2 separate regions of the Homo sapiens genome follow, and region 2 is linked to region 1. The links are contacts of gene promoters, found by promoter capture Hi-C in human tissues and cell types (Jung and others, 2019). All regions are on one chromosome and are shown on one strand. Each heading gives the region's core, a stretch centred on a gene start or on the middle of the fragment in contact. The rest is flanking DNA. Distances are from core to core; before and after follow the strand shown.

Region 1 (3,401 bases), core at 872-3,371:
CAAAACCCATCTCTTTCATGCCCATTCTAATTATCCTCTTACCTTTTAGTCCTACTAATAAACTGCAAGTTACAATTAAAACACTGAAGTAAGTGAACAAATCTTTTCAGGGTGACAATCCCAGGGAGTGGCAGTGCTGATTAAAAAACAGATGTATCTCACTCACATGTCAAGTCAAGCCACCCAATCACTTGAGAGATTCTCCCACCCCATCCTGCTCACTTAAGTGCTAAACGACCACCCTCTCTGAAGACCACCCTCTCTGAAGACGCTGCACTATGCCTCAGTGACTGCCCCAAGTACATTTCACTTTGCAAGTTCTTGAACCATCTCACTGGGGTAAGGTTTGATTTGTCTTTTTGGATACTATCATTTCTTTCACAAATCTTAGAGAATCCAGTGGGCCGAAATTATTTCTGTGTTCTCCCCTCAATACCAGCATATGATTGATTGACCAGCAATATGTCTCCGGAAATGGACACTGGGTTGGTTTGAAGACAATCTTAACTTCTCAAAGGGTTTGCTTTTCAAAGGAAGAGTACACCAGGAGATTCCTCTCAGCCCCAGGGCATTCACCTGCTCCCTTGAGAGGCTACACTCCAACCTCAGGTTGTCCTCTGTCTCCCATTCCCAGATAACCAGAGTTCATTCCAGGCCAGGAGCTGAAATTTACCAGAGATTCTAGCATACACAGCCACAGTGGATATTTTGATTTATCCTCAGAAAGTACTGAAACCCAGGACCAAGGAAAAAACTGAAGAGTGACTAAGGACACATTACCTTATAAAGTTTCCAAAGGGAAACCTTGACCCAAAAATATTCTGATAAGATCTCTGTACCTAGGGAAGATTTAAAAAAAAAAAAAAAGGCACAGAGATTTTTTACAATACAGCATCAGGGGATGAGTCTTTGGTTTCTTCTCATGGGAAATATTTACAAACAGATAACAAATCTTTTTTAAAATGCCATCCATGCTTTGTCAAAAAATGATTAATTAAAATACAGTATTTCAAATGTACACTAAAGGACAAATAGTTGATAATGTGAATTAGGAAGGGGAAGTTGGCATTTGGGAATGTCAGAAGGAACTGGAAATTTAGTATTTTACTGCAAGCCAGAGTTAGGCTGAAGGAATGGGAAATGGGGAGGGGGAGGAGTCTTGAGACCCTGCTTGGGACACATGTGAAAAATGAAGGGGAAGATCTGTCCCCTGTGGAGTGTGAAAATAATTAAGTGGCAGGCAATTAGACTGAGGTCGCTCCAGTCCCAGGGTTTCTGGTTTTAAAAAAATCTAACTCAAATGCATTTTTTTGTAAATTACTACCTTGTGAAAAATAAAATTCATGTTTAACCAACTGTAAACTGCCAATTAACCTCTGATTACATGACCAGGAAATTTCCTCCTTCATTGTACAAATTAAGAAACTACATAACTCTACTAACCAATTACTGAATTTGGTTTTATCATACACCTTATACAAGTGTTTCCTTCAAACCCCTCCCACGGACCACTACTGCAAACCACAGCTGGGTGCTCCACAATTCTTGAATCACTGTTTGATTAAATTAATTTTTTTGCGGTGACTTTCATAAATTTTAATAGGGGAAAAGAGGGACAGGGAAGCCCGCGGAGGAAACCTCTTCCCATTCATGAACCCAGCACCCCGAGTCAGGATTCTCCCCTGACGACCCTCCCGTCGTCTCTGCACAATCGCTGCGGGTGCAGAGCTGCTCAGAGAGGGCTCCAGGCCAGGGCACAGTCACTGCGCAGGGAGGAGACAGGACGCCTGGTTCCGGCTGTCAGCCCAGCTGCCATGCTATGGCTTAAGGGGACTGAGGGCCGAGCTGTGCCAAGAACTCGGGGCCGCGGATTTTGCAGCCGACTGCGGGAAGACCCGAGTACTGCCACAGCCACTTCCGACCGGTTCCAACCAGCTCCCTCCCCCTCTCTCGGGATGTCGGACCCAGCACTCTCACCATTTCTAGGCTTCCGGGGGATCCTGGCGTCTTAGCTGTGAATCTCCCAATAACCAGATCACAGCGCCACAGAGGCTGGGCCTCTAGGAGTAAGAGGACGCAGAAAAGTGAAGGCCAGACCTGCAGCACCCGCTGCAGCGAGACAAAGACCCCGCCGCCTCCCGGAAGACGTCATGTCCGCTCCAGCTGGGTGCCTGATTGGACCGTTCCCAGCCCGGCGTCCCTGATTGGATAACGTTTAACAACCCGCCCCCTCAGGCCCTGAGTGACAGATGTGCTCAGGTGCTGGGCTGAAGGAAGACAGAGTTAAACCTAAGCAGCAGCCTTTTCCAGAAGGGCTTCCTCCCTGAGCTGAGTCAGGCCCACCCCAGAGGGCATTTGCATTTAACCTTGTGTATAAGGTCGTATGCATTTATAAATAACATATAGCTATTCACATCTGAATATAACAATTATTTTTAAATTCCAGATTTTATAACCGTACTGGCTTCTGGTCCTTTGAGCAGGCAGCCTGAGATTTTTTTCTTTTTTTTTTTTGAGACAGAGTCTCACTCTCACCCAGGCTCAAGCACAGTGGCACGATTTCGGCTCACCCCAAACTCCGCATCTCGGGCTCAAGTGATTCTCCTGCCTTAGCCTCCTGAGTAATTGGGATTACAGGCACCCGCCTCCACGCCCGGCTACTTTTTGTATATTTAATAGAGACAGAATTTTGCCATGTTGGTCAGGCTGATCTCGAACTCCTGACCTCAGGTGATCCACCTGCCTCGGCCTCCCAAAGTGCTGGGATTACAGAGCACATGTGAATTCCAAATTTTCTAGTAGTCAAACTTTAAGAATAAACAGGTGGAATTCACTCTAATTGAGATGGTTAGTCATTTAGGCTGGGCTCAGTGAGACCATTCTTGTGACCTCAGCTGAGTTCCTTCAGACATGTATCATCAGCTGCTTGTTGACTAGGCAGCTGTGCTTCTGGGGGTGAGCTTCTGCTTCTGAGGCTGTCAACAGAGGCAACTTGCTTCTCCTCCCCATACTATTTTATCTTCCATCTGGCTAACATGGGCTTTTTTCGCGGAGATAGTAGCCTTCTGAAAGAAAAACAGAAGCATGCAAAACCATTTGAGCCTACGCCTCAAACTAGCACACTGCACTGTTCACAGGTTTTTACTGCCCTGAGCAAATAAGGCCAGCCAGATCTAGGGTTTGGAAAACAGAACTGGATCTCAATGGAAACAGCTGTAAATGCACCTGGCAATGGGCATGGATAGCGGAGGGATGAAAAATTGCTAACATTTTTGCAATCAGTATCATTCTGCCTTTTTTTGCATATGTGGTTTATATAACTCTTCCACATCAAAAAAAAAAAAATTTGTGCAAAGACCCACAGCTATTAAGTGGCTGGGCTGGGACTCAGAATTAACTCC
Region 2 (3,095 bases), core at 317-2,816, 85 kb after region 1:
TTTAAAGTCACTAGCAAAAATAATTATTAGAGATGTTAGCCCATTATGTTATCAAGTAGTATACTGTTACCCTCTTTTACCTAAACCCTTGAGTAATGTGGGATAGGTAAAGTCAGTGGCATGAAAACACTTCATTGAATGCACAATAGTTTTAACATGTTAAAAAAAGTTTAATTAAAAAACTAAGTTCACGCATAATCCAAAAATTTTTAAACACATTGCATTTTATTACATAAAAGTACAAATAGTAAAATGATATACTACTAATTCACTTTAATTTTAACTAAGATTAAAAATGGTTTTCTCTTACTATAATGCAGAAGAATATTGCTCTGAAAACCTACTTCATGGATCACTCAATATTATAAGTTAAACACAAACAGCCTCTTCACTCAGGTTTTCATCATGCATCTTACATTTTAATGTCCTTATTCTTTCATAGAAAGTGTCATAAATAATACCGACCTAACAGAAATGATTTCTCATATCTTTGATGCATGAAAAATTAATCACATGCTTTCACATGTGAATACAATAGGAATGAAGAGCATGAATTTGAGTTGAATTACATCATTTGCTTTTCAAAAACTAATTTTTCAAGAAAAAATATAATTTGAATGTAATTATACATCTACAAAAAAATTCTACTTCTTTTAAAGTTATATACACATTATTTACCTACCAACTTTAGTTTTAAATTATTTTCTATACTCAGCATTCTGATTCTATACTCAGCAATGTCTGAAGTGTCAGTACCTTAGATATTTCTACTGTGAATTCTCTGATATTTATATAGACTTAATTTTGGATTAAATTATTTTTATATTTACTTCACTTGCAAAAATATATTTTAGTATGAGGCCTCTGGTATTTTCTAAGCTGTAGTTTTTTAAAAAATGTTTTCACAAATGCATTACATTTACAGTGCTTTTCTCCAATATAAATTTTCTGGTGTTGAACAACATTTGAGCAACTGCTTCATGGTTTTCCTCTAGTGCAAAATGGGTACAAAAGTATCTGTGATACAAGTAAAGGTACTACAACCCTCTTCGTATTTGTATTGTTTGTCCTCACAATGAATACTCTTTTTTTGTTTTGTTTTTGAGACGAAGTTTTTGCTCTTGTTGCTTTGGCTGGAGTGTAGTGGTGTGATTTCAGCTCACTGCAATCTTCGCCTCCCAGGTTTGAGCAATTCTCCTGCTTCAGCCTCCCAATTAGCTGGGATTACAGGGGCCTGCCACCACACGCAGCTAATTTTTGTAAAATTTTTAATAGAGATGGGGTTTTGCTATGTTGGCCAGGCTGGTCTCAGACTCCTGCCCTCAGGTGATCCACCCACCTTGGCCTCCCAAAGTGCTGGCATTACAGATGTGAGCCAGCACAACTGGCTCCTCTTCTTCACTTTAAAGGCTTATATTTTCTGAAAGATCTCTTGACAAAAATTGCATTTATAATGCTTTTATTACGTACTAACTCTCTAATGTTGAGTAAAATCTGAGCAGATAATAATGGCTTTTCCACATTCCTTGTATTTGTACAATCTTTCTGAAGTATAAATGCTTTCCTGTGCAATAAGGGGTGAGCATTTATTAAAAGTGTTGCCACATTTTTTACACTTCCAGGAGTTTTCTTCAGTATGGATTCTTACCTACAATCAAGTGTGACAACCATTTAAAGGCTTTGTGATATTTTTCACATTTCTAGGATTTTTCACCAGTATGATTTATGTTAGAAAGTTCGAGGTGTTGTCAAAATTATTGTCACATCATTCAGGTTTGTAAAGTTTTCAGTATTATCTTATGTTTAGTGAGGTTTGAGGATTGGTTTAAAGTATTGCCACATTATTCACATTTGCAGGGTTTCTCTCAAAGTATAAACTGTCTTATATGTAGCAAGGTGTGAGGACCAGTTAAAGGCATTGCCACGTTTTTTACATTTGTAGGGTTTCTTTCCAGTATAAATACTCTTACATGTAGTAAGAGTTGAGAATCAGTTAAAAGCTTTGCCACAGACTTCACATTTGTAGGGTTTCTTTCCAGTATGAATTTTCTTATCTACAGTTAAGGGTTAAGGAAGGTTAAAAGCTTTGCCACATTCTTCACAATTGTAGGCTTTCTCTCCAGTATGAATTTCTGTATAGTAAGGTATGAGGATTGGTTAAAAGCTTTGCCACATTCTTCACAACTATAGAGTTCCTCTCCAGTATAAATTATCTTATGTGTAGAAAGGTGTGAGGACTGATTAAAGGCATTGCCACATTCTTCTCATTTGTATGGCTTTTCTCCAGTATGAATTACCTTATGTTTAGTAAAAGTTGAGGATCAGTTAAAGGATTTGCCACATTTTTCACATTTGTAGGATTCTCTCCAGTACGAATTTTCTCAACTTTCAGTAAGGTTTGAAGATTAGTTAAAAGCTGTGCCACATTCTTTACATTGTAAGGTTTCTCACCAGTATAAAATACCTCGTGTGTGCAGAAAAAGTTGAAGACTTGTTAAAGGCTTTAACACATTCTTCACATTTGTAGTTTCTCTCCAGTATGAATTTTCCTATGTGTAGTAAGCTTGTAGGATCAATTAAGTTTTGCCATACTCACATTTGTAGGGTTTCTCTCCAGTATGAATTTTCTTATGTGTAGTAAGATTTGAGGATAGGTTGAAAGCTCTGCCATAATCTCCACATTTGTAGGGTTTCTCTCCAGTATGAATTATCTTATGTATATTAAGAGATGAGAACTGGTTAAAGGATTTGCCACATTCTTCACATTTGTAGGGTTTCTCTGAAGTATGAATTTTCTTATGTGTAGTAAGGTTTGAGGATTGGTTAAAAGCTTTGCCACATTCTTCACATTTATAGGGTTTCTCTCCAGTATGAATTTTCTTATGTGCAGTAAGGGTTGAGGATAGGTTAAAAGCTTTGCCACATTCTTTACATTTGTAAGGTTTCTCTCCAGTATGAATTATCTTATGTCTATTAAGGGTTGAGGAGCAGTTAAAGGCTTTGCCACATTCTGCACATTGGTAAGGTTTCTCTCCCGTATGAATTCTCTTATGTATAGTTAGGTTTGAGAATCGGTTATAAGCTTTTCCACATTC

The links. The method cuts DNA at HindIII sites, captures the fragments that hold promoters and counts their contacts. A contact is called where the count stands out against the background at its distance.
Region 2: a fragment that was not itself captured here is called in contact with the fragment with the promoter of ZNF138 in region 1 in 2 of the 25 tissues and cell types used here (H1 embryonic stem cells and hippocampus).

Annotation. Positions count from the first base shown.
Region 1 is chr7:64,793,148-64,796,548 of GRCh38, reverse strand. ZNF138 (zinc finger protein 138) reads right to left here and starts at 2,121. Exons shown (of 4, transcript NM_001271639.2): 1 at 1,978-2,121. The coding sequence starts at 1,980. RefSeq lists enhancers at 1,521-2,081, 1,866-2,105, 2,346-2,395. The HindIII fragment of the contact is 15,546 bases long and covers 1-3,401 here.
Region 2 is chr7:64,708,138-64,711,232 of GRCh38, reverse strand. It overlaps ZNF107 (zinc finger protein 107), which reads right to left. Exons shown (of 4, transcript NM_001282359.2): 4 at 1-3,095. The coding sequence ends at 2,577. Among named protein-coding and RNA genes, the nearest start is that of MIR6839, 31 kb to the right of the region's middle. The HindIII fragment of the contact is 5,049 bases long and covers 1-3,095 here.